Linked DNA regions of Homo sapiens: regions 1, 3, 4, 5, 6 and 7 are each linked to region 2. The links are contacts of gene promoters, found by promoter capture Hi-C in blood cells and fetal thymus (Javierre and others, 2016). All regions are on one chromosome and are shown on one strand. Each heading gives the region's core, a stretch centred on a gene start or on the middle of the fragment in contact. The rest is flanking DNA. Distances are from core to core; before and after follow the strand shown. Region 1 overlaps EHF (ETS homologous factor). Region 2 holds the start of SLC1A2 (solute carrier family 1 member 2). Region 3 has its middle 17 kb from the start of EHF. Region 4 has its middle 11 kb from the start of LINC02707. Region 5 has its middle 27 kb from the start of ELF5. Region 6 has its middle 17 kb from the start of LINC02707. Region 7 has its middle 9.7 kb from the start of ELF5.

Evidence for each region. Contacts are between HindIII fragments. The CHiCAGO score rates a contact against its expected background, and 5 or more counts as called.
Region 1: a fragment that was not itself captured here is called in contact with the fragment with the promoter of SLC1A2 in region 2 in 1 of 17 cell types (activated CD4 T cells); the score reaches 7.2 in activated CD4 T cells.
Region 3: a fragment that was not itself captured here is called in contact with the fragment with the promoter of SLC1A2 in region 2 in 1 of 17 cell types (activated CD4 T cells); the score reaches 6.3 in activated CD4 T cells.
Region 4: a contact is called between a fragment that was not itself captured here and the fragment with the promoter of SLC1A2 in region 2, in 6 of 17 cell types (total CD4 T cells, activated CD4 T cells, non-activated CD4 T cells and 3 more). The highest score is 7.5, in total CD4 T cells.
Region 5: a fragment that was not itself captured here is called in contact with the fragment with the promoter of SLC1A2 in region 2 in 2 of 17 cell types (activated CD4 T cells and non-activated CD4 T cells); the score reaches 6.1 in activated CD4 T cells.
Region 6: a fragment that was not itself captured here is called in contact with the fragment with the promoter of SLC1A2 in region 2 in 7 of 17 cell types (naive CD8 T cells, naive CD4 T cells, total CD4 T cells and 4 more); the score reaches 12.0 in naive CD8 T cells.
Region 7: a contact is called between a fragment that was not itself captured here and the fragment with the promoter of SLC1A2 in region 2, in 2 of 17 cell types (activated CD4 T cells and non-activated CD4 T cells). The highest score is 8.1, in activated CD4 T cells.

What each region holds. Positions count from the first base shown.
Region 1 is chr11:34,624,120-34,627,624 of GRCh38, reverse strand. All of the region lies in intron 1 of EHF (ETS homologous factor), which reads right to left. Among named protein-coding and RNA genes, the nearest start is that of EHF, 4.8 kb to the right of the region's middle. The HindIII fragment of the contact is 2,895 bases long and covers 636-3,505 here.
Region 2 is chr11:35,417,414-35,421,017 of GRCh38, reverse strand. It overlaps SLC1A2 (solute carrier family 1 member 2), which reads left to right and starts at 1,460. Exons shown (of 11, transcript NM_004171.4): 1 at 1,460-2,068. The coding sequence starts at 2,052. SLC1A2-AS2 (SLC1A2 antisense RNA 2) reads right to left here and starts at 1,961. Exons shown (of 2, transcript NR_186310.1): 1 at 1,911-1,961; 2 at 16-482. RefSeq lists an enhancer at 1,314-1,814. The HindIII fragment of the contact is 13,046 bases long and covers 1-3,604 here.
Region 3 is chr11:34,602,280-34,606,171 of GRCh38, reverse strand. No RefSeq gene overlaps it. Among named protein-coding and RNA genes, the nearest start is that of EHF, 17 kb to the left of the region's middle. RefSeq lists an enhancer at 2,256-2,550. The HindIII fragment of the contact is 5,828 bases long and covers 1-3,892 here.
Region 4 is chr11:34,557,913-34,561,493 of GRCh38, reverse strand. No RefSeq gene overlaps it. Among named protein-coding and RNA genes, the nearest start is that of LINC02707, 11 kb to the left of the region's middle. The HindIII fragment of the contact is 4,398 bases long and covers 1-3,581 here.
Region 5 is chr11:34,538,747-34,542,685 of GRCh38, reverse strand. No RefSeq gene overlaps it. Among named protein-coding and RNA genes, the nearest start is that of ELF5, 27 kb to the right of the region's middle. The HindIII fragment of the contact is 3,200 bases long and covers 51-3,250 here.
Region 6 is chr11:34,586,135-34,589,767 of GRCh38, reverse strand. No RefSeq gene overlaps it. Among named protein-coding and RNA genes, the nearest start is that of LINC02707, 17 kb to the right of the region's middle. The HindIII fragment of the contact is 3,589 bases long and covers 1-3,463 here.
Region 7 is chr11:34,521,548-34,525,426 of GRCh38, reverse strand. No RefSeq gene overlaps it. Among named protein-coding and RNA genes, the nearest start is that of ELF5, 9.7 kb to the right of the region's middle. The HindIII fragment of the contact is 6,939 bases long and covers 1-3,879 here.

The sequences.
Region 1 (3,505 bases), core at 834-3,333, 790 kb after region 2:
TGACCAGAAACCTCATTTGAATAATTTACCAAGAGGTAGACCCCAGAGTGTCTGGGCAAAAGAAGTAAGTAGAATTTTTTTTCCCAAAGCCTCTAGAATGCCCAAGATTCATGACCTCAGCATCAGTGGTCAGTAGACATCTGGAGACATGATCAAGAATTTTAGGGGTGGGCAACGGTATACTCACTCCTAAAAGCTAGTCATGTGAACTGCCTGGAGGAGAATCAGTATTTTCTGCAGGTCCCTACTTGCCAGGCATCAGGACACAAGAACAGGAATGTGCTGCATACCCAATCACCCCAAGTCACCCCAGGTCTCCCAGGACCTCCTTGGTTGTGGTTTGCAGTTGACTCAAAACAAGGTTCAATTTGGAGGTCCCCCCTTAATATGGTTCATGCATCTCCCTGCTACCCACCTTCCCAATAAAAACCCTATTGCATTTCTTTCCTAAGGTCACAGTGAAGAACCAATGTTGATCGCCACACACACACACACACACACACACACACACAAACCAAAATCCCAGAATTTAATATCCATTCACTCTGACCCAACAGAAACTCACTGAAAACACCCAAATTGAAGACTTCCCTTGATGTTCATTCCACAAATTACTAATTATTTACTCACAAGCTTTTGTTCAGGTGCTTTCACATTCTTTGTTAATTTAATCTTTACAACAGCCCAATGCAGTAGATGTTATTAACTCCATTTTCCAGATGAGAAAACTTAGATGCTAGAGCTTATATAACTCACTCAAAGTCATTCAACTACCCAGTGGTAGAGTCCAGCTTAAACTCAGGTGTCTGGACTCTAAGTCCAGTGTTCTTTACACCACATCTCAGCAGCTTCCAAGCCATAAAATCTCTTAGCCTCCTACCCCTTCAGATACACATGCAGTCAAATTTTACTCCATCAACATTCCTTGACCCACAGCCTTCTGCCTAGTGGAATTAAGATGACTAAAAGGTGAGCTAGCTGCACTCTAATTTTCTAAGTGGGCATGATCAAGACAGAGGCTGAATTTAGAGTCAAATCTAGAGTACACTGCAAAGACAAAGCAAGTCTTATCATTAGTCAGCCTCATGACTAGATGAAATGAGGCTGACTAGATGAAATCATGACAAGATTGAAAATTGCTCTCATCTTTCAGACTCTGCTCACCTTATTGTCCAGAATATATCATCAGCCCTACTGAGGAGATTTTTTTTAAGGTTCCTAAGAAGAAGCCTGGAATAACCTCCACAAGATGACCATATTCTCCAATCTCCATTGCTCTATTCAAAAAGTAGAAGACCCTCTTCTTATTCCAGGAAAAGCTCAACAGACTTTTGGGGGATGTTGTATCAGGCTAAGAAAGGGCTGGACAGGCAACTGAAATGTTTTGAAGCCACAGTTGGGCCAACAAGAGCCCAGCCCCCAAGATTATTTATTGTGCTTCTGTGATAGAAAGTGGGGTGGAAAAGCAGCTATGAAATTTGATGTTCATAATTGCAACAACATCAAAGAAAAAGGACATTGAGACAAGGTCATACAAAGATAAAAATAAGTTGTTATGGTAAAATGACAGGGTTAATGAGGTGGTCTGTTAGTCTAAAAATCCAACTACTATAATAGGCATTTTGGTTTCTTTTTATTTTTGGCTTTGTTTTAATCAGAAAGCACATTTTGTATGCACCTATACTGGCCATATTTTAAATAAGTAGGCAAGTACCCCTAGTAACAACTAAGATGCTAAAAAAACAAAACAAACAAAAAAAAAGAAGGGAGGAAGCCTCCCAGAGGCCAGGGTGTGTGGTGAGATTGGAGGAGGAGAGATAATGCAGACCAATTGACCAGAACAAGGGGCCCGGCCCCGTAAAACAAACCAAAGACAGAATGCGGTTAGGTGCTTGTGAAATAAGTTTTCATAGGAGTATTTTACAGGGTGTCTCTTTTAAAACAAGGTCAATTAAAACCCTAGGAGCCTCTTTAAATGGGCCACCCTGCTTGGCCCTGTTGCAAGTTCTGGTTTCTCCAGATACAAGGTTGACGCTTTCTGGGCACATCAGGGTCTCCAGGTTAGGCTGCTCAGTGGCTGGGGCAGCCACAGGGTCTTCCTCTAGGAGAAGTGAGTCCACATACGTTCGATCTACTCAGTAAGTCATGGATAATCAGTCAAGCAAGCTCATCAGTACCATACAAACTCAGTAGACACCACGAGTGCCTAAATGTCCATTTTCTGGCGGGCTGCTTTGGCGTTTTATAGAAGACACCAGTAGAGCACCTGCCCCTGTGCATAGGCTGTTCCCTGCCATCACAAAACAGTCTGTTTCATCCACTTCTACATTCCCACCAGCTTGAGACACATGAGGCAAATTGGCAAAGCTGGGATGTTGTCATGGGAGTGGATTCTAACATCCTTAATAAAGGCTCCAGGTGTCAGGTCTTAGTACCTCCACTAGTATAGCCTTTAGCCAAAATTCTGAAGGCCCTAAAGAATCCATTTAAGGGCTCTTGCTAATCTTTCCTGCCTCATCCTTAGAAGGCTTCTCCCACCTGTTCTCAGCTCTCACAGATTCGTGCTTATCCTGCTGACCCCCAGGTACTCCCACCACCCCCAATCACCACAGCCACAGAATCTGAGGGTTAAAATGGATCTTAAAGATGGTCAGGTTCAAACCCTTTTGCCTAGAGGAGGAAACTAAAGCCTGGCAAAGGGGAATGTGTGCTCTGGGACACACAGCTCTGCCAGTGCTAGACCAGGTCCCTAGACTGCCGTCCAGCACACCACCTCACATCCCGCCTTCCCTGCACTGTGCTCCCATCACTCCAAAGCTGGAGTTCAAAATTCTTCAAGGAAGACTCTTAAAGAAATATTTCCACCCCCCTCTGAAGAATAATAAACATTTTAGCAAATAACTCTGAGGGATCCCTGGAAATTTCTACTTCAGCACATCCTGGTTTCCGGACATCAATGTCATTTGGCTTGAAACTATGTCCCACCCTAAGAATAGCTGTGGTGAGGAGCCATTCTCCTCACTGCACTGTTTGTTTCCTGCACAGCTTAGTAGCTTGGCCCTTTGAAACCCCGTTCAATTTAAGTAAACACGTTTTTAATAACAGCAAGATTGTTTGCTCTTTAGAACAAATCTATTATTTTAAAATCATATTCTTAAAAATTAGATATGAAAAATGTCAAATAAAGTTAATTATCTATGCCCTCCTTTCAGTTATAGAGCAAGAGATTTAAGAGAACCTGGGCAAGGTGTGGCTGCCCTCCTGCCTCTGTCTTCAGATGGCAATCCCCGCCGCAGACCCGGCTTACCCAAGCTGAAAGCCACAGCGCCGCGTTCGGTTTCCCAGTAACAAAGGCAGGGTGAGAATGTGGTCTCTAGACACCCAGGCTGCAGTGGAGCCAATGCCTCCCAACCAGGGCCCCACCCACAACAGAAATGAGTGTCACGTCAACTCTACCAGAGAGCGATCTTAACAAGAGAAATGGGCTGAAACGGCAGCAAAATGG
Region 2 (3,604 bases), core at 211-2,710:
GAGGTAAGCAGAGATTTATTTTTTAAATTTTATTAATGTGTTTTCCCCTCTTTTTCTTGTTATTTTTCTCATCTGTCTGTTCATACTTGGATATTTTGTCCAATAAACTATCTTCTAAGGACTCTGAAAATGCACTGAATATTTTTGGAGGGTTTACTGGGTGCCAGACGCCACTTTAGGAGTTTTACATATCCTCTCCATTTCATTTAGTTCTCTTAGCACAGAGAAGTGGGAGAAGATAGTCCCATTTTACAGGTGGGATGAAGAGAGAGATGGAGGAATTTGCCCCAGGTTACTCAGCTAGAAGGTGGTGAAGAACTCAAGCCTTCGGATATCAGCGCCTGGCATTTAACTACCAATCGGTCCTGCTGGGACTCCGGCTCCTCTGGCACCATCCCCGGGACCTACTCAGAGAGTTTGCACGTGGCCGGTCGCGTTCCATCGTCTAACAAGGTCCAGCACAGCGCAAATCCGAAGATCGTCTACCCCGGGGAAAAAGAGAGTCTGTTTAATTCTCCTGTGGCCCTCCAAGTGAGTTCTTTTGGGTTCCATTGCCTAGACGAGGAAAGTGAGGCTTTGCCTGCTCTGCGCTCACAGGGTCGGCAAGTAGTGGGACCCTAGGTTCCTGCAGTATTCCAGAGATAATCAAAGCTGCACAGGTCTCGTCATTTTTATGCAAAGGCGTCCGGAAGGCTCGAACTCTCCCTTGCACAAGCCCATCTGTCTCTGTGCGCCGCCCCCGGGACACGGAAGCAGGCGGCGAGCAGCGCCGAGTGGGTGGAGAACCGTCCCCCGCCACTCACCCCTCGGCCAACTCTCCGCGCCTTCTCAGCCGGCACCCACGAGGCCGACCTCTCTCGGCCTAAAAAAAAAAAAAAAAAATCCCGGCCTCCCCTGCACCCCGCCCGCCGCCCCCAGGGAGCTGCATTAATATTAATCTCGCTGAATAATTGAAGGCCAGAGATTTATTCGAGCTTCGGCGGGGGAGGGAGCGCAGCTGGGCCGCGTTTAGGCTGCACCACCCGCGTGTTTCAGCCGCTCGACTCCGCTGGACCTGGGACCCCCAGACGTGGGAGGATGGGGTGGGTGTGCCTGCCTGTGAGTTTGGGGGTGAGTGTGAGCTGAAGCGGGTGCTCCGGGGAGTGAGGAGGGAGCGCCAGGGGCTGCTCCAGGGAGGCGGAGACGGAGGGGCATCCCGGGTCTCCGCGCGGTCGCCTGCGCTTCACCCCGCACGGGGTGACCTGGGGCCACGCGGGCTTCAGGGGAAACAATAGCTACTCCTTAGATCCTGGGCTCCTGCCACCGGCTGCCCAAGCCTTCCCGGACGAGCGGCGGGGCCTCTTTTCTTATTTGGCTAATTTATGGCGAGAGGCTGGGGGGAGGGATGGCAGAGGAGGGACCGCGACTGGAGATGGGGGCGGGGGGCGGCGGTTAAAGGAGTTGCCCGAGGCGGCGGCGCGGGTGATGTCAGCTCTCGACGAAAATAGAGAGGGATCGCCTGCAAATCCCCAGCTCCGGCGGGGCTAAACCTTGCAATCCCTCCCTGGCCGGCGCCGAGCCAGAGCGCAGCGGCCTCCACCGCCTCCCCAGGCGCGCACACACCCGCACACGCGCACGCACGCTCACCGTCCTCTGCCACCACTCTCTGCTCCCGCCACTCGCCGCGCCCGCGAGCCCCGCAGCAAAGCACAGGTGGCAGCGGCTGCAGGGGCGCATCGCCGGCGTGCGCCCTCCTGCAGCCCTGGGCGCATCGCTCTCTCGGGGAAGCCACCCTCGGAGCCCCCGGAGCTCCCCGCCAAGCGCCATCCCCGCGGGCGGAGGGGAGCGCGGGTCGCGCGCCGTGGAGAGCCGGGACGCGGATTAGCGCCCGCAGGAGCCTCCTGCGCCCGTTGAGGCGCTAAAGGGCTTACCCCGGAGGCGGGTGGAAGGGCGGGCAGAGGCTCCTCTTAAATACCGCTCCCGGCCGCACTTCGCGCTCACCCCGGCGTCCGCTTTCTCCCTCGCCCACAGCTGCCGGATAGTGCTGAAGAGGAGGGGGCGTTCCCCAGACCATGGCATCTACGGAAGGGTGAGGGGATTTTTATCTGTACCCGCGGGAAAGCGGGGTCACGCGCGGGGTGGTGGCGCCCCTATCCGGGATGCGGATAGAGAGGCGGCGGCGGCGGGCCTCGGAGGTGGTGGCGGAGCCGTAGCTTGGCTGGGGATGGGATGGTGGGGAGGGGATTGATTTTCTTTCCTGGAGATTGCTGCTTAATCCTTTGAAAATGCGAGAGGTGGAGGGTTGTTTTATTTTGATAAAAAGGGTAAGGTGCGCTGGGGGCCTGAGAGTGTGAGGAAGAAATCCTCTTGAGGTTACTTTTGGGATTTCAAAACAATAGGGGATTGGGCATAGTGTGAGCAGACACCGGGGTAGCAGCGCCTGGAGCGCGGCGCCCCAGGCCCGAGGCGGGCTTGCAGGTGGTGCCGGCTCGGAAGGAATGAGCCAAGACAGGGCCCTGGGGCGGGGCAAGGACCAGCGCGCGCGGCCTTGAACGCCAGGTTTGCAGAGTCGCCATGGAGATGCTGGGCCCGCTCCGATCGGTCCTTGTCCCTGGAAGGCGGAATCTCCCTGGCTAGCTCTAAGGAAGGGTGGAAGAGATTTGGGTGCTTCCCGGGAGGCGGGAAAACGTGTGGTTTGGGACAAGGGCAGGAGTCGCCAGACTCCAGCGGGCAGGGATAGCATTGGCTTCCCTATTCAGCCCGAGGATCTGGAGTCGTGTCCTGCCTCCCAAGATTCCAGCTGGCATGGGGAAAGCTCCCTCGCAGTGATAACTAAAGACAATTGTCTTTAGCAAGAGACAGAAGGGGCTGCAGGGGGCAAAAGGATTCTTTGAATACTCACACATCAAAGGAAAGGTCCACAGAGTCCTTGGACCAGTATCTCCCAGAAAACTTTTTGGGCTTCGTAGAACCTGAGTGGCAATGAAAAGACTGGGCAGCTCAGCCCTTTGGTTAATTCCCAAAATTGCAGTTACTCACTTGCAAGCGATCACAAAATCCATGTTATGTGAAAAGCAAATATCAGGGGCTTCTCTGGGCTCAAGTGGTGGTGTTGGCATTTTCCAGTTTCTCCTAAGAAATTTTACCAACTCCGCAGGCTTGTTTTAGGGGAATGGATCTCTAAACAGGCTGAAGAGCTGGTATCCAAAGCCAGATCTCTAGACTGCAATCTCCAATAGAAGGAAAATATTTCTAGAACTGTCTCTCTGTCCAGGAGAAGGAATTCATTCATTTTCTGTCCCCCAGAGTCCTTCCAAAGGCATCTGGCATCTTGTCATTGCATGAAATTTTGTCTCTCCCTTTGCCCTATTTTGCAGTTTAGACTTTTTTGATTATTATTTCTCCAAAAAGATGTTTCAGGAAGACACCTGTGTACAAGGAGGGTGGTACCTTGTGCTAAAACAGATCTCTAGAAATAGATACTAGGAGCCCATATGGATCAAGATCAGTGTCTTACCATGTTTAGTTAAAAAGGCTTTTATATTAGAAAAGATATGAAAGAATTTCTGGTTGCCTTCATGGACCTTCTAGACTTATCCTTGCTTGTAAAGGCTAGGGTGGAAAA
Region 3 (3,892 bases), core at 123-2,622, 810 kb after region 2:
TGCCTAGGTACATTTACTCCTTGTCTTCCCTGGCTAACTGCTGCTCATCCTTAGACCCCAGCCCAAACACAGCTTCCCTGGGGGGGCCTTTCCTGATGAGCTCACCCCGCCACCATTCAGTCCCCACCTGAGTTGTTGCCTCTCTGCTCCAGAGTCTTCACCTCTCCAGCACATACCACACTGTGTGGTAACATCTCATGTACTTCCTCTCTCTTGAGCTGGACTATCACAGCAGCAGGGGCATTTTAGGAATCCACAAATATGTATTGAACGAATGGAGAATGACATGGTGTGGATGTCACCCCACAGCAGATGACAGGTATCAGACTTCAGCAATGGAACTTAGCCCCACCGGCTTGGCGGGTGTCACGTAAATCCCACTGCCTTGGTCCACATGGCCAGTTTCTCTCTGTCAATGCCTAGGAAATCGTAAGTCTTGAATGACAGGCATGTTGAAAAGGGCAGTGACCAATGGAAGATTGATTCATAGTGAGAAATTTCTGGCAGGTTCTAACCACAACTCCCTAGGGATAAAAACAGAACAACCTCAGGTTTACAAGGTGGTAATAGAACCAAAGGGCTGAGACCAGTGTCAAGAGGTCATTGAATTCATTCCCCTGCCTTCAGGCAAGGCTGGCTCAGTCACAGACCAGTGGGTGTTTCCTTATATTATTAGCAGGAGTAATTATTATTATTATTATTATTTTCATTAATAGCAGTATACCAAGGTTTTTATTAAAAATAAGCACTCACAGGGAACATGGTGGGTGCCTGCCTGCATCACCCTTCCCAATACTCGTAGAACACAGAATCTGGTCTCAACAATGTAAGGTCTGACTCCACCTCCCTCATGTCAGCATGATTGCTCAGTGGGAGAATTGAAGCAAGCAGGTTCTCATTTAGAAGACAGCAAAGAAAATGTTCCAGAATCAGGCTTTGGGCACTCTCTCTCACAACAGCCCAAAGCATATGAAAAGTCATGGGGCCACCATCAGGCATCCCCTTTGCAATTTATAATCGGCCCAGCCGTTTCCCTGTGCAGAGGGCACGCAGTTCAGAGTCCTGCCCATCCATGACCTCATCTGATCCTCACAGCAACACGTGCACCCAAGGAATGGGAATAAGTTGAAGGTGGGACAGGCTGTAGGTTGGGTCACCAGAGTTCTCAAAACTAAGTGGGTGAGTGGGCTTGAGTACAGAACGAAGGCATTCGATCACCAGTCGGACCCTCTGACTTTATATTCCGCTTCTCAGTCTAAAAAGAGTCCACGTAGTCAATAAATATGTGAACACCTACTATATTCCAAGTACTGTTCCAGAGTCTAGGAATAAAGCAATGAACAGATTTTTAAAAGACAAAACAAAACCAAAAACTCTGCCCTTGTGGAGTTTACATTCTGGTGCTGCGGTATTTATAAGCCACTTTCAGTAACATGGTTTTAGATAATAGGTGAACCTGGAATTAATCAATATTGAATCACATCATGAGAAATGTGTGCCCTTTCCAATTCTCTTAATTCAATCCTTCACAGACTTTAGAGGAGGTCTCAGTTGGCTGATATCACCCTTCAGTGAAAGGAGCATAGGCTGCAGGATCCAATGAGAAGTTAATTCCAGCCTTGGGTTTCATCCTATTTATTAACAGTTACCTTCTAGGTGTAGCCAGGGTTGCTAATTTTCCATTAAAGGTAGTGATATTATTGCCTTGTAAATAAATGCACATTCTTTAATAAGTGAGTCATTAAAAAAAAAGACCTAAGAGTCTAATAGGACAAGTGGTAAATGAATATAGCAAAACACTGGATGTTTAGAAGGCTTGAACTAGGTGGGGCCCTCAGCCTAGAAATAGCCAAGGGCACTTCTGCTTCTAAAGACCCAGAAAAACTAAGGTTGCCTCACTTTTAGAGTGGGATAATCTAAAGGTTCACTGCTTCTTTTCTTTGAGACAGAGTCTCTCTCTGTTGCCCCAGCCGGAGTGCAGTGGTGTGATCTCCGCTCACTTGCAGCCTCTGCCTCCTGGGTTTGAGAAATTCTCATGCCTCACCCTCCCGAGTAGCTGGGATTGCAGTGCACCGCCACACCCAGCTAATTTTTACATTTTTTTTAGTAGAGACAGGGTTTCGTCATGTTGGCCACGCTAAACTCGAATTCCCAATCTCAGGTGATCCACCTGCCTTGGCCTCCTAAAGCGCTGGGATTACAGGTGTGAACCACTGCGCCCAGCCACACTGCCTGATATTTTAATTAATCCCACCCCTGTCACCTTCATCTCTCCACCCACTCTCCAGCAGCCACTGCACTCAGTGCACACCATCTCCAGGAGGGACACCACGAGGGCTAAGCCTGGAGCCTGACAGCAAACACCCTACCCTTCCTCCTAGCCGCCAAGGATTTCTCTCTCTTATCTCAATCCCCACACTTTCCCCGAAGGCAAAGGTCACTGCAGGAAGCTCCCCAAAGTTAATTAGCCCTCATTCTCGGAAGCCAACAGCCTCCTACTCTAAATAAGGAAGAGCCGTCCAGTCCCTTTGAACCCGCGTTCTCCTTAGGTAAATGGGTTCTGCACAAGCTCATTATCAGAATCACCTGGGAGCTTTACCAAACTACAGGTGCCTCGCTGCCTACGACCAATTTGCTGAATCAGTCATTTCAAGATGGTGCCCGGAAAGCTGTATTTTGTGCCCCTTTGGAGAGTCCAATGTTCAGCCAGATTTAGAAGCTGATATGCTTCATTGGAAACAACTTCTCCATAGGCTCTTTATTTGGCCAAGTAACAACCACAATTATCTTATCAAGGCAGGAAGTGTCGTTTAGTACACAGGCTTTGGAGTTGAGCAAACCTGGATTCAAATCCTGGGCCCACCACAAGGAAGTGACCGAGTGGCCTCAGGTTAGCTGCTTAACAACCCTGTGCCTCAGTTGCCCCAGCTATAAAATGGGGGTATCAATGGCACCCACTCATCATCAGGTTGTTTGAAGGATTCCATAATCTAATGTGAGCAAAATGCTCTATGCACTGGCTTGGAGTAAAAGCGAAAAAAATACCAGCCATAGTTAATGTGGATTGGTTTTATCTTGGTAACCAAAGGAGACTCAAAGTGGTTTGCAGGGAAGACAAGAGGAGAAGGGGACAGAGAAAAGTGAGAGGGAAGGCAAGCTGAAATAATTTTTGATGTTCAGATCTTATTTGCCCCTTTCCCTTTAACAAGTGAGGCTCTAAGGCCAGAGGCCAGGATTCTAGGTCATTCCTCACCCCTTTCCCCACCTTGTGATCTAGAGATCCCACACTGGATAGGTGGCCAAAGTTGCTGAGTGACACACAGATGTGGGGCAGACATTCGCCAAGAGAAATCATCTGAGTGGACCATTGAGAAGGGCAAGCGAGGACCCCTGTGTAATGTTAGTATTAAGGGAGCTTGGGAAGGCCCTACTCTTCCCTGACACACAGCAGATAATCCCGTCTCCCCTCCACTAGCATACTTCTTTTCTTCATTTGGAAATGGAGGGCTCTTTCCTTGTGGTGGATGATCGGTTCACTCACTCATTTACTGGTTCCCTCATTCAGCAGATCCCCACTGATTGCCTGCTGGGCACCTCATCCTGTTCACATAGAATATGCTGCTGGGGCCGGACATCTCTGGCTTGCCTCCCGGTTTTACCGATTAGGAACCTGGGACCCAAGAAGGTGAAATGACTCAGCCACAGTCTCGCAGCCGGCAGGTGGTAGCACTGGATTTAGATCCAAGTGTCCTGACTTGCACTCCACACACTGCCTGCATGAAGGGCATGGCCAAGTTCTATAAGGAAATTTGTCTCTTCACCTCCATCATTCACCTGGCACAATGTCTGGAGCTCGCTAATTGTTGGCAGGTGGAATGAATAGTTTGAAAGC
Region 4 (3,581 bases), core at 931-3,430, 860 kb after region 2:
TAAGCTGCTCAACAACCTTAAGGTAAGGAAAGATTACTATCACCATTTAAGATGAGGAAATAGCAGCTCGGGAGGTTAAGTCACTTTTCTAAGGTCAGCTAGTGATTGGAGGAGACAGATTCAAACCCAAGTCTTCTTACACTCAGACTGGTTCTCATTCCCGGAACTGAACCATCAGAAGAGAAATGTGGGGCTATGGACCAGATGAAGCCAAAGTAGCCTTGGCATTGACCCAGCTTGCTCTGAACCACAACCTCCACCACTGAGTTTTATGAGATCACTTAATTACTCTTTGTTAACACCAAGCAAGATGGCTGCCAAGCTCAGGACACAAGCTCTGCACTTCTCACTGCCCACTGGCATTCTGAAAATGGTAGGCAGCTTTTGTTGGTTGAGTCTAGAGAATGAGCAGGGCTCTCTTCTGGCAACAGAAAGTTGTAAGGCACATGAGCTGGCCAGAGGGCAGAGTTGGGGCAATGCTCTGCTAACTCAGGGAGCTGAAGACAAGTGTGCACACAGCACCCTACAGCATTGAGGCCAACACTGTAAAGTCCCACTGGTGCTAGATATTCAGAGGACACAGAGGAAGAAAAAGAGAGGGAGATGCAGGCAACAGGCAAATTCCATTTTTACAATTCCTTTAGCACTCAGCCTGGATAAGAGAAAGGGGAACGTTTACGTTCAAATTCCAGAAACATTATGTTCTGGCTCTGACCTGCCTGAGTCTGTTTCCTCATCTTCATAGAGTTGCTGGGCAGATCCAAGATACTGTATGTGATCATATCTCTGAGCACACACCACTTAATATATTGCAGGTACTCAGTGCCACGTACTGATTATCTCCTTTAATCTGAAGGACTCTGCAAGGTCTAAACTCTTTTATCCCTATTTTACAATGATGACACTGTCGCAGAGAAGGTGAGTAACTTACCCATGACACACAGCCAAACATGCTGGTGCTGGGATAATAAATATCAGTTAGTAGCAATAATCCTAGATCTGACCTGTGAGCACCTTGAAAGTAGACATCTGGATTTGGGTTTAGCTTTTTTACATTTTGAAATATTTCAGACCGGGCATGGTGGCTCACGCCTGTAATTCCAGCACTTTGGGAGGCCAAGGTGACTGGATCACTTGAGGCCAGGAATTTGAGACCAGCCTGGGCAACATGGTGAAACCCCATCTCTACTAAAAATACAAAAATTAGCCGGTGTGGTGGTGCTTGCCTGTAGTCTCAGCTACTCAGGAGATGGAGGCACAAAAAGCTCTTGAACCTGGGAGGTGGAGGTTGCAATGAGCCAAGATCACACCACTGCACTCCAGCCTGGGAGACAGAGTGAGACTCTGACACACACACACACACACACACAAATATATATATTTCAAGTGTACAAAAGTATATATGATTACAAATGCCTGTGTAACACTCAACCTAAGAAATAAGATATTAAAATTGAAGTCTCAGCACACCTCCCTTACTTTTATTCTTCCACCTTCCCCAAAAAGTGCCAGTTGTTTATTTAACAGTATTTATTGAGTACCTACTCCATGCCATGAGTGGTTTCCAGATGTTGAATTGTTTTAAGCATTTTCCTGAATTGTGGGTTCATTATTTCCACACCTGTTTTATATTTTATCATATATTCAAGTATCCATTAGCAATATTTAGCATTAGTTGTATGGTTTGAAATTTTATACAAATGGTAAAATATTTATAAACGCTTTTGAAACAACACCTTGATAATCTTTTTGTTTTCATTTTTACAGACAGGGCTTCACTATGTTGCCCAGACTGGTCGTGAATTCCTGGGCTCCAACGATCTTGCCTCCTCAGCTTTCTGAGTAGCTGGGACTGCAGGTCCGCACCACCACGCCCTGTCAATAATCTTGTTTTTAAGAGAGACAGAGACAGATAGAGACAGACAGAAACACCCTATCACTATATTAGATATGGTAATATCAATAAATGCATTGAGAGATGAACTGCAAAAATACATTCCTTCCTAAGAAAAGATAGGAGCCTCTCATGTCATTCTGAACAATCTCACTTTAAATGGGCTTTGCAATAATTTAGTGGAGCTATTGGGAAGAGTTATGGAGGCTGATACTATGACCTGTTCTAACCAAAATTCAAGCTAAAACCACAATGAAAAATGATAGTGACAATAATATAGCTTTACATTTGTATAGTGTGTTATCATTTTAAGGCATTTTCATAAACATTACTATTTCTTGGGATGGTAATGTGTTAGTGAAAAGAAATTCTGGTGATCACCCACTCCAGAGGATTTCAGAGTTCATTTTCACAGCAAAACACATTTTTTTTCCGAACTAAATCTTACCTGGGATTTCTCAGGTTTAAACAAGACTGGAGAGTCCAGATGCTGTTCTCCAATCAGCCTCCTCCCCATCTCCTCTGTCCCTTAAGAAAACCATGGAGATCCAGGACTCTAGAGAAAGATCTGGTTCACACACCTTATTTTACAGAAATAAATATGGGAAGGGATGCTGAGCTTGGATCTGTTAAGTCTCTACCTTGGCCCTATCACGCATTCCTCACTGAATTCTTCCAATAGAGGTGCAGCAACATTAAGCGCCTTGCCTGAGGTCACATGGCTGTTTTACAAGTCCATGGGAACTTCAGTGAGTGGGTGGCTGAGTCAGGATTTAAAATCCATCTTCTAATCCCACGGGCAGACCTGCTGCCCTCTAAGCCAGGGGAGATTAATCAACTAATACATTTCAACCTCATTTCTCTTCGCTACACTTTAGTTGGATGGATCTTTCTGAGTTTATCTTCTAAAAGCAGGCTCAGTCCAGAGAATCTGTGACCTTATTGGACGAGATTGGGTAAAGATGTAGGTGCCCTGGAGGACCCAGCACATCCAGGCCTTGGCAAAGGTGGGATGTGTAGAATCTTTATGAAGCCTCCTTCTCTTCTCCCTTGGGGTATCCAGTCCTCTCCTTTCTGGTCCCCAGAGCCCTCTTGCTGATCCAGACGATCCCCTAACACCAATTTTCCTTTCTCATCCCTCCATACATGCCTTCAGCACATTCATCCCACATGCTGCTCCCTGAAAGTGTGCCAGTATAATCCAAGATGACTCATTGCTTAACCTACCTACTGAAATATGCATATCCTTAAGGTAGCTCAAAAACAGCATATTAATGGTGGAAATTTTAGGTGCCAAATTAGATCAGTCAGAGAGTTATTTATAGAGAAGGAACATTTTTGCTGATTCTCCAAAGATGCCACACAGATCTACAGGTTATGGTTCCAAAACACCTAATAAGCCATGTGTTCAGATTGGCATTGGAGAAGCTCTAAAATCTGTGTCTTCTGGCACTTTCAGAGAAGGAAAGAAAGATTGAGAACCAGGCTCACCCCAGCTTGAAACCGAAACACCTCCTCTTTTTACCATGAGTAATAGAAACAGCTAGTGCTAACCAAATATTCCATGTGCTTCCCAGTATTCCCAGCCTGCCTCACAGCTAGGTGAGCCACATGACTAGTTTTGGACACAAATTACAGGCATAAGTGACACGTGCCACTCCTGAGCTGAAGTGCTTAATGATACCTG
Region 5 (3,939 bases), core at 401-2,900, 880 kb after region 2:
AAAAAAACTTGTTAAAATTGTGCCTAAGGTAAGAATAGGACAGAAAAGCTTCTATCTTAGTAAACTGAATGTCCTTTAGAACAATGACTTGTGACTTCTCTACTGCGGTATTAGAAGGTCTCTTCCCATCTTCTTCATTCATTTAACATTTACTAAGCACTTGCTATGCCAAAAAAGAAAAACCTGGACTGGCTGCTGAGAACAAGAAGATAGATAAAACATAGTCCCTGCCTTCAAGGATTGCATTTAGAATAAGAGACAAGTAAGTAGATATAATGATGCCACCATGGTATAAGCCCTGTGACAATATATGTACAAAGCACAAAAAAAGCATTTAACTCTGCTGTGGAGAGAAGCAGCAGTCAGGGAAGGCTTCCTGAAGGAGGTGGTGTGTGGTCAGGAAAGGCTTCTCAGAGGAGGTGACATGTGAGCCAATTCCTGAAACATCCATTGACAAGAAGTCTCTCTGTCCCATCACCACCAAGACAAAGACAGACTGCCAAAAGGACACACCAGGAAAATGCAAAAGCAAAGAGGCATAACATAGCTCAATGAGTCTGGGAACCCCAAATAGTTCAGGGAAACTGAAGTATGTGTGTGCTTGTGGGAAAAGATGGGAATGGCAGCTGAATCTAAGAAGAAAACTAAGTTAGCAAATCGCTCATCTATTTTTTAAATGCTTGAAGGAAAAATAATGCAAATTTCCCAGAGCAAATTGATAATTAACTTTATCCCACCCATATGTATTTCATGAGCCAAATCAACTTGCTGCAGGGGAGAAAAGAAATCACTAGCAGTGAGCAATTCCCATCTGCTGGACATGCTGCTGTAAGAGCTTTACATGGATCATCTCATTTAATTAACCCAACAAACTGGGAATTCATATTATGTCTATAAATGAGGAAACTGAGGCAAGGAGAGGTTAAGTAACTTTCCTGAGGGCCCAGAGAAAGAAACAGCAATCTAACAACAGAGACAGGGACCTTAGCATTTTGGTTTCCGTGGAGTTGAAGTAGGTGAGCTGGTAGGGCCCAGGTCTAAGGGTGTGAAGAAGGAAATGAGGTGAGAGGAGGAGAGAGAAAGAGAAACAGCATGAGTGAGAGTCAGTAAAATAGGGAGAGAAGTGCAGGAGTGAATGTAAAGGAGGAAAGAAGAGACATTGCCATAGTTTCCCATGGGAGACCCCCTAAGCTAAGGCCTAGGGCTGGAGGCCCCACCGCCCAGTAGACCCTTTGGCAAACACCAAAGGAGAGTGGACCAAGCCCTAGATTCCCATATGTAGAGCCCGAAGGTGCCAGCCATGTAAGTGAGGGAGGAGCTGACCAGCAGCCAGAACGGTGAGCATGAGACTGAAACAGGAATGAGTCTTCCACCTCCATGACCCAGAGACAGTCAAAGGAGATGGGACTCGAGAACTCCTGGCTGGATGAGCTCTAAAGAGCAGTCAGCGCAGATCCCTTATTCTATCGTTGTTGAAACTGAGAGAGGCTGTGAGATTTGCCCACAGACTTCCAACACTAATATGTACTTTTTCTCTGTCTGCCTAAAATTACTCAACTGGTAAGAGAAGAAGCAGAACTAAACTCTAGAGCTCCCGATCTCTTGCAATCCGAATGTTTGTCACTAGCCCTTCCTTCCCTCAGGAGCAATTGCTTAGCCAAGTTCTGGAGACTGAAGTTTAGGACGCTCACAGGGAGAACTACTCTTCCAAAGGTCACAGCTTCAGGGGCAGAAGCAGAGAGGGTAGAAGGCTTTGTGAGTGTAGCAAACCTCGGTTGAGCTCATGAGGAACAGACATTTGTGTGTTACTCCCATGAAGTACCGGATGAATCCTAATTCTTTCTCATGCTTTTCTTGAATAATCTGGACTCCCACTGACTGAGCAAGGGGAAAAGAATTCTAGAAAAATAAGTGGTGAAAGCCTAGAAACCAGAAAACCTTTTGTAAGGAAATTTCATCAGGGTGTCCTGAAAACATTCTGTGTAATGCACTCTGCAAAATGGTCTTCTAATATTCAGAAGCATGTTCTAGGATTGCCTTGCTGGCTGCTAAAATTTTAACAAATACATGCCATCTCTCACTGTGCCCTGCTTCCCTGACTTCTATCCCTGGAACCCCCTGGACTTTCCCACAAGCCAGCTGGTAAAAGTTGCCTGTTCCATCGGGGGGGCTTCCAGAATCTCCAGGATAAGTTCTGATTGGTCCATGCTTGCGCGAGTACTATTTGTCAAATATTTTGAATATCACCTCTGCTTACAAAAACTCTGCAGTTCAGTTTGAGTAAGTTATGTGACATTAATGCTATAATTACTATATGTATACGCTTTCCACCAACCAGGTACAAATATCTATTGAGAATCCACAAGGGTCAAGCCCGGTCCTCAAGCACCAAAAGCAACAGGGAATAAAATCTGACATGGGTCTGTGCAGGGTTTGTGGAGTTTCCCCACTAGTGGGGAAAGTTCTAGGCTGGACCCCCATTGCCAAACAAGGAAACCTACTATAGACATACAGTATTAGCTAGTGATTCTCAACTGGGGCTGGTACAGTCCCTCTCCAGGGCTTCTAGAAAAGGGGGAGACATTTTCAGCTGTTGTAATAACTAGAGGGTGCTACTGGCTTTCACTGGAAATGCAAAAGACAGTCTCACAAAAAGAAAAGTTGTCCTCCCCAAAATGCTAATAGCACTCAGGTTTACTAGAGAAAAAATTAGAATCAATCAACATTAAACCACTATTCAACAAAGTGTTGTGCATATTGAACCACCACCTGCCAGAGTTTTTTAGGATGCTCGCCATTCAAAAATTGGGCAGAATCTACGGGGCAAAAAGTTCTAAGAATCAAATGGGCAAAAAGAATTTAAAGGGGAAAAGTTCTATTTACAGAATCCTACTTTACAGTCAGACAAAGTGTTGCATATAACCAATGCTTCTCCAACTGGAGTCAGGCAAAACGTGCTATATTCTGAACAAAATACCTACAAATCAAAATATATATATGTATATGTTTACTGAACACTCTACTACTACCAATCAAAGGCTATGGATCATGAATACTGAATTTCAGCCCAGTACATAAAGAGTTAAGTTCCTGGCTTGTTATTGATATATGTGTGTGTGTGTGTGTGTGTGTGTGTGTGTGTGTGTGTGTGTGTGTGTGTGTTAAGTGCAGTGTACCTGCTAATCCTTGTGGTTTCTTTCCTTACCAGCCAGAAAGTATTGTCTGAACCCATATGCTTCTCTCTTAAGCTTCCTTTACAGTCGCTGTGTTTAAGAAATAGCAGAAACAGAAGTATTATTTTCACCTTTAGCATTCCCCTAAAGTGAAGCAAAGGATCCCTTGTCCCTGACCACAGGGCTGGGAGCTAGCAAAGTAAATTCTAGTGAAGAAATAGATAGTCTAGAATGCTAACCCATCAGTCAGCCAAAACTACAAACTATTTTCCCGGCATTAATCATGATTCCCACACCAGGACTGTGAAAGCTGCAGTAGCTTCTATATAGTAGCCAGGCAATGAATATGTGTTGAGTGAATGAATGAAATGATGAAACAATGTACACTGGGTCAAGGTGAGGTCTGGATGCTGCCTCAAGCCACCTAGAAGTCAATTCCTAAAACTCTGCCCTATCTCCTACTAAATGTTCAGTAGATTTGTATTGATTTATAATAGCAACCACAGCTGTTACTAAGTTTTTCTTACATGTCAAGCGCTAGACTAATTCTCCATCATTTTGTTTAATCTTCACAGCAATGTTAAGCAGTAGGGTTCATCGTTATCCCTGCTGTACAGATAAGAAAAGTGAGGAGGTAATGAGGAGTTAATCTACATGCCCAAGATCCTATGGCTAGAAAGTGATGGAACAGGTTTTCAATCCCAATCGCTCGTCTCTAGAATTTAGCCACTCTGCCCCCTGGGAAGGGAGAAAAGGGAGTTACTGC
Region 6 (3,633 bases), core at 420-2,919, 830 kb after region 2:
AGTTTTGTTATAAAAGGAAATAACAAAGTGAATACCTAAATTTTAATAATTGTTATCTCTGGGTGATTACAGGCTGAATTTATTTTTCTGATTTTGCTTATCTCTTTTTTCCAATTATTCTCTGACGAATATGGATCTCTTTTGTAATTTAAAAAAAAAGAAAAAGAAAAAACTAGAAAGTTGTTAGTTTTTGTTTATGTTTGTAATTAAGAAGAGGTGGTAATCCCAGCACTTTGGGAGGCCAAGGCGGACGGATCATGAGGTCAAGACCATCCTGGCTAACACGGTGAAACCCTGTCTCCACTAAAAATACAAAAAAAAATAGCTGGGAGTGGTGGCAGGTGCCTGTAGTCCCAGCTACTCGGGAGGCTGAAGCACGAGAATGATGTGAACCCAGGAAGCAGAGCTTGCAGTGAGCTGAGATCGCATCACTGCACTCCAGCCTGGGTGACAGAGCAAGACTCTATCTCAAAAAAAAAAAAAAAAAGAGGCGCTGCAAAGTGAAGATGTGGAATAAGAGTCTTCCAGACTTTACTCTTTCTTGGTTGCTAACCCAAAAGGAAAAAAATCCTAATGGTGGGATTTCAGGCAGTGAGGAAGGCGGATGTAGGTGGGATTTGTTGGTCATTGTGGCCTTTTTCCATTCAGGCACTAGAACACCATCCAGGCATTCTGCTATCCCTTGTTTAAAACCTTTCTGCTGCAGATTCACAATCTCTACTTCTAGAGGGAGATGCCCTTGAGAGGTCTTCTCCCCTCTCCCTTTTCCATTTATAGTCTTCTTTCTTAGATAGAAATACATTTTGACTCAAGTGTCTTTCATAGGGCTTAACAGACCTGGACATGTGGCACCAGTGGCCCTGCCCCACGTGGCTGTCCATCTGGTCTCCCAGTGACAGACACTGGAGCCCTCTCTCTTCCTTTGGTCACACCACGCCAGGACCTTTGTAGAATGTTTATTAGGCACACGTTTGACTCTGAGCAGCTTGAATATAAAGGACTCTTAAGATCTAAAGCGCAAGCAAAGAGACTTATTTTGGCTCTTGGTCTTTATAGTTATATTGGCTCTTATTTATTTCTTAAACATTTATTGGGCACAGGTAGTAAACTCATCATAGACCATGGCTCCTGAAGCCCTGATAATTTAATACCTGATTTCTGGAGTCTGGGGAAACATGGAAGGTGTCCTGTAGGATGAGGCAAATTAGCTGTCAATAGGCAGAAATGGCCAGCCATAGAGAAAAGTGGGCTTTAAATGGGTTTAGATATTCAAAAGTGCCTCATGATGGTCAGAAAGAAGTCTCTGGAGTAAGGATGGGCATTAGTAGCCCCTATACTCATCTCCACCATTAGTCTTTATTGAATACTTACTATGTGCCAGAGACTGCTGGCCAGGTACTTTACATACATCATCTCATTTAATACTCACAGCAATCTTGGAACATATATGATATTATCCCCTTTTGGAAGATGAGGAAATTGAGACTCAGAAAAGGTTAGGTAATTTGCCCAAGGTCACATGGTTAGAAGGGGGTGGTGTTGAGCCAGGAATCCAGTCTGTCAGACTGGAAATCCTTATCTCTTTTTCTGACAGTAACTACTGCTCTGGGCAATGACCGTCATTTGTCTACATCTTCACAAGATATTTCCATTTCCATTTCATGCACTTTTGAGGTAAAACAGGATCATTGATTTATGAAGACTGTTTTTATCTGACATCCATTTCTTCAGGACGACTTTCTGCACTGCAGACATTTGCCCCCTGTGATGATGGGGTCCTTGCTACAACATGCTGTCACAAGGTCTAAATGAGATCGTGCATATAAAACATGTCGCTCAGAGCATGACACAGAGGAGACTCTCAACACACTAGCTTCCATTAGGACTGTCGCTCCCTCGGTCCCAGCACTGCCTGTTCCTCTTTACCTTTGCAGGTAGTGGGGAAAATATACAAGGAGACCTAGATTCTGAGTGTTTCTTGGACACGGGTGCTGGCAGCTTTGTGCAGGAGTATCTCTCAACATCCCTGGAGTCAACATTCTGAATGTCCTGTGTGATGCTGATATCACCAACTCTGTAGACCCTGAGCCTGCTCACTATCACTGAGCCTTCACGTCAAAACAGGAAAATGATGAGAGGTGACTGGTGCTCCGGTAAGAAACTCCGATAAGTTTCTGCATCAGATCCTGTACATGAGAAAAACTGTCATGAAGAGGCAGCACAGCATAGAAGCTAGAAGATCAAATCTGGAATTACGCAAATCAGGGTGTGAATATTGGCTCTGCTCCTTCCAGCTCTGTGACCTGGGGCAAGTTACCTAACCTCTCTGAGTCTCTGTTGCAGCTGTAAAGCAGAAATAGTAATAACTATTTCACAGCTTTATTAGCAAAAGTGCATGATATAGTGATGTTAAGTGCTTAACACAGAGCCTGGTCCACAGGAAACACTAAACAAATGTTTGTTGTTATTATATCGTTGTTAAAAGCAAAAAAAAAAATAAAATAAAATAAAAACCTGCTATGAGACTTGTTTTGCAGATTAATAAGCAATTACTTTAAATGACTTTTCTCCCCAACTAGCTAAGTCTGCTGTTTGATAGGTTTGAACGAATCAGTCAGCTGTTGAAGTCTCACTGAGCGCATGCAGCATGCCCTGGTGTGTATAGATGCAGGGGCTTGGCAGGCCCGGAGGCCAACAGGCTTAACAAGGTGCGCTAGCTGAACACAGCAAGATGAGATGATTGAAAAGTCTACTTGAAATGTTTAAATACAAAGTAACTTGGCAAGGAGATAGAATCAGGACAGCTGACCTGCTCTAGGCCTCAATTTCCCCATCTGCACAAGAAAAGGGCTGGACTTTATGTCGCTTTCTTGCGTCTCTGACCTTTATGAGCGAAAGAGTCTGATTCTGCCAGGACCATTTTAGCTGCCCTATGAGTGCATCTGGCAATTCCTAGTTCTGCATGGTCTGGTAAAACTTGGCATCTGATGCCCCTCTATAAGTCAGAGTTTTGCAGGGCTCATGCAGGCCCACCAGCTAGGGCACATCTCCCCCACCCCCAAGCCTCCTGAGGACACGCCAATTCCAACATCTCCCACCTCCCACCATACGCAATCACAGGAGACATCATTCCAACTGGAGTTCCCAGTCCACGAAGAAAAGAGAGATCTTCTCTAAACAGGGTCCTGTCTGTTTCCAGCATAAACCACCTGAGATGTTCAGAAGGAGAGTTCTTTCTTTCCTCCACAGCTTCGGAAAATCATTCTTTTGCACGTTCAGAGGGGGAAAAGTTGGCAACAAAACTTGACTTTTTACCAGAATGAAAACTTTCTTTGGGGTTAAGGAAACATTGCCATCTGGTGGCATAATATAGAAATAACTGGACAGAGTGATGAGTTTCTAACCCACAAAAGATGAAGTCACACAATTCCAATCAGAAAGAACTAGAAGGGTCCTTAAAGCTTAGATCCAATGCTTTTACTTTACTGAGTAACGGAACTATTGTATAGAGATGGCTTGTGAATTTCAAGACTAGAACTCAGATCTTCTCAACTTTATGTAATTCAGCTGTCTCTCATCTCCACAACTCACTCCACACCCCAACATATACACACCTCATACTTAGGACTGAAA
Region 7 (3,879 bases), core at 1,318-3,817, 900 kb after region 2:
CCCCGCAGGCCTGGCTTTACCCAAGCTCCAGTGGTAACTTCTGAGTCAGCCCCACTCAGGACCAAGTTTAGCCTCTGACTGACTGGCTAAAGTGGTTGTCTGACCTCCCTAGGCCTCCACTTGCCCTTCTATAAAATGGGGATACAAATATTGCCCTCCCTCTCCTGAGTGGCACGAGGCTGTGATAATTACTATTTGGCAGGGTGCTGAGGTACTGACAAGCCCTGTCTGACACATTTCTTTCTGGCTCCTCCAGACGCTGCACACCTCACCTCCACTGGAGACCACAGACCCATCAGCAGCACACGGAGACTTCAGCCACTCACCACAGAGCAAAAGTCTCTCTCTGGCTGTCTCTCTCCGTGGTAGCTCATGTCAAAACGAAAGACTTGCCTAACCCTCTGCTGACCCCTGGGCATTGTGGAGGTGGAAGAGCCGTCTGTCAGCTGCCACTCCAGGACCCTGCTGCGCCTGGGAGGCTGCTCGGGGCCGGGACACCCAGGGGTGGTGTCCCCTGCCTGGAGGCAGCCATGCAGTGTCCTTCTCACTGAGGAGGAGGGGTCGATCCAGCCGGGGCCCTCACAGGGCTGGGTGATGACTACATTGGAGGACCCGAGTCCAGCCCAGCCTGGTGGGACGAAGGAGCTGAGGTGGGTGCTGTGCGGGTCTGAGTGTGCAGGGAGAGGAAAGGGCACCTGGGGGGAGAGGAAATGCTGGGGTCCAGCGGGCAAAGCTGCCCTTGCCCCAAGCCATCTGCCAGGGAGGAAGAAGAGATGGCTCTCCTAGCAAGTGGCAAGGAAACTAAGGCCCTTTTCCTTACACCTTAGCCTGCAAGCCAGCCCCCAATGCCCTCCTAAGGGGTGGGACAACCCTCTTTAGGAAGCAGGACCATCTTTCATAGCTACTTTTTCCTATTTAGTCTGCCTGTGTGATGCATTTTTACTTTTACCCAATTTCATCCAGATAGGGAATGCCGGGAGTCACAAAGCTATGCACGGCACACTGGAGCTTGGGCTGGAGTCTCTTGGAGACAGCTCTGCATGTGGCTAACGTATGGCCTGGCCCCAGGTAGAAGAATGGAAACAGATGTCGGGTCTCCTTGCATGATTTTGAGATGCCAGTGTGCCCACCTGCAGAGTGGGACCAGAATGTGAGCTCATTCAGTTGGCTAGAATCAGAACTCATTCCCGTGTCTTGGGCATTTTACTGTGATCCAGTCATTCATATTGATGCATACCTTGCTTGTCTGTACAGACGTGCCTTCTGCTCAGCCCAAAAACATCCGCTTAGATAGTGGACTTTTGTTTGCATCCTTGGCTAAATTCAGCTGCTGTAAAAAGCATAAGATAGAGCTGAGACTCATGAGGATGCCGATCCAAATCTCCAGGCCCTTGGTATTGAACGCCAGTTTAAAATCAAGATTTCTTAATTCCCGAAAAATGGGAAGTGGGGTCGGGGCCGGGGGGGTGGCGGACAGGAGAGGGGCCAGATTAGGGGCCTGTCTAGCTGTTTCCAGACGCATGCCTTCTTTAAAAGTAGTCGCTGTCTTTAGCCCTAGCATGTTACCGACTGACTTGTCAATGTCAGGGTAGCCACGCAAAGAATCTCCGGCATGTCATTAACCTCGTTCCAACATGTAATTAGCCTGAAAAGCCTCCTTGCTGCCTCCATTCAGCATTACATCATAAAGAATAAGATATTTTACTATTTGCAGCACACGGTGAAGACTTTAAAGAGTTAATTATGGCTCACTGGAGTCCGTCCCCAAGATCCCAAGACCCAGAAATTAAACTGATTATTTTCAAATGTCAGTCTTCAAGAGAGCATTCCAGGCAACCTCCTCTGTGGAATCTGAGGTTGACGCTGGTTTGCAAGGTGACCCACCAGGATACACAAGGGTGGGTTGGAGGAGGTTATTTGATTTCGGCCTTCCTCTTGTATTTGGCCATGTATTTTCAGAGATCGCATCATCTGTACAGGCTTGGAGAGAAAAGAAAAGCAAGGAGAGCTGGAATTCTACTTACCTTCTTGGTTCCGTGGGGTGAATCCACCTAAAGCCATCTGTAATCTCTGAGCTGGAGAGACCAGCAATGTGGCCAGAGTTCAAAGGGAGTTCAGCTGTAATCTGGATGTTACAATCTGAGCCAATCTAACCATGCAGGCTCTGAGGACATTATTATCAGTCAAGTGTAATTATAGATAAAATAGTTTTATTAATCGGCTTCCTAAGGGGACTGTGTTTATCTGATGGCTGTGTGTATGATGTGTGCATGGGAGAAGAGGGAGGGGTCTGTGCTGTGTGTGGTTGGTCTGTACGGTGGGGAGGACAGGGTGTCTGTGGGGAGAGTGTGGTGGATGTAGGGGGTGTGTCTAGGTGCTAGGTGAACTCTCTGTATGAGGGATGGAAGTGTATGTGGTAGCACTGACAGCATGCACACATGCATGTGTGTGTCTGCTTGCCCAGGTTTATTCAGCTGGACTTGAAATTGTGCCTGTTTTATCCACTATACCTTGGATTTGTCATCACCCTTTTCCCAAAAAAGAGGCTTTTCTATATCTGTACAATAATTAGCTAGAGTCTATAGAGTTCCTAGTTGCAAACTCCACCTGCAGATGCCCTCCTTGGCTGCTAACTGTCAGCCAAATTTTCAAATCTTATCTCCAGACCTATCATGGTTTGTCTTAAATGTCCATCACCTTAAAAATGTTTGTCAGTTGCAAAGTATCTTGAATGGGTAGGGCTCCTCCTGAATATTGTTTGGTCTGGCCTAAAGTCAACTTCACTCAGCACTGGGTAGGAAAAATGAACTTTCAGGGCCCAGAACTGCAGGTTTGATTTAAATTTGATCAGGCATCAGTGGGGAGGTGGGTATCCAGTAACACTCCGAGGCTAGGTTCCCCCACAGTGAAGCTGAAGGCCGAGAAACTGCCCAGAGACTGTGGAACAGGCACAGCCAGCCTGGTTGCCTCTGCCCTTCCTGGCAATCTACCTGAATCATTAGTGCCTGGACCAGGCCTCTCCACACACAGCCTTTTTCTGCTGGCTGACTGTGCAACTTGCTGCTCACCCTAGCTGGAACACTTGACCCAAATTATTCCCCACTTCAGAGGGCCTTGTGCAAAATCTGCCCTCTGCCTTTAACTTGGCCCAAAATGACAGCTGAAACCTGGGGTGGATACAGCCTGAAAGCCAGAAACACCAAGTGGCTGCTTCCTTCCTGTAGAGGTAGATAGCATCCATTCTCCCATGGGCACCTCAAAAAGGCAAACTCACCAAAGCCCCACTATTAGGACTTCTGATGTCACACCTGTTGGCCACTCTGCAGAGTGATTTGCTGGGATTCCTGGAGTTTCTTTGCTCCCAGAAAGGCACATAAGGGCCCGGGGGAAAAAGAACAGTTTAGATAAGGAAATAAACATTTTATAAAACTACTGCTCCATTTAAGATGAAAGAGGACTGTTGGCCAAATAAAGTGGCCTTCTCCTAACTCCCAGGGTTTGTAAACTTTTGATGGATTCCAAATAAACTAAAGATGAAAAAATGGATGAATGAATATCTACCATGTGCCAGACACATACACCTTTATTATTTCAATTGATCTAGTGAGTAGTTAATATTATTTTCATTTTGCTAATTTAGAAATGGAGACATCACAGTAATAATCATTTATTGAGTATTTAATATATGCCAGGCACTGGGCTAAGTGCTTCATATATTACATATACCATGTTATCTCATTTAATTGTCACCAAAACTGTATGAAGTGACAATTTATTTTCAGATGAAGAAACCAAGTCTCAAGGAGATAAGTAACTTGGCTACCAAGGGATAGAACTGAGATTTGAACCTACATCAATTAGACTCAAATCCCAGTGCTC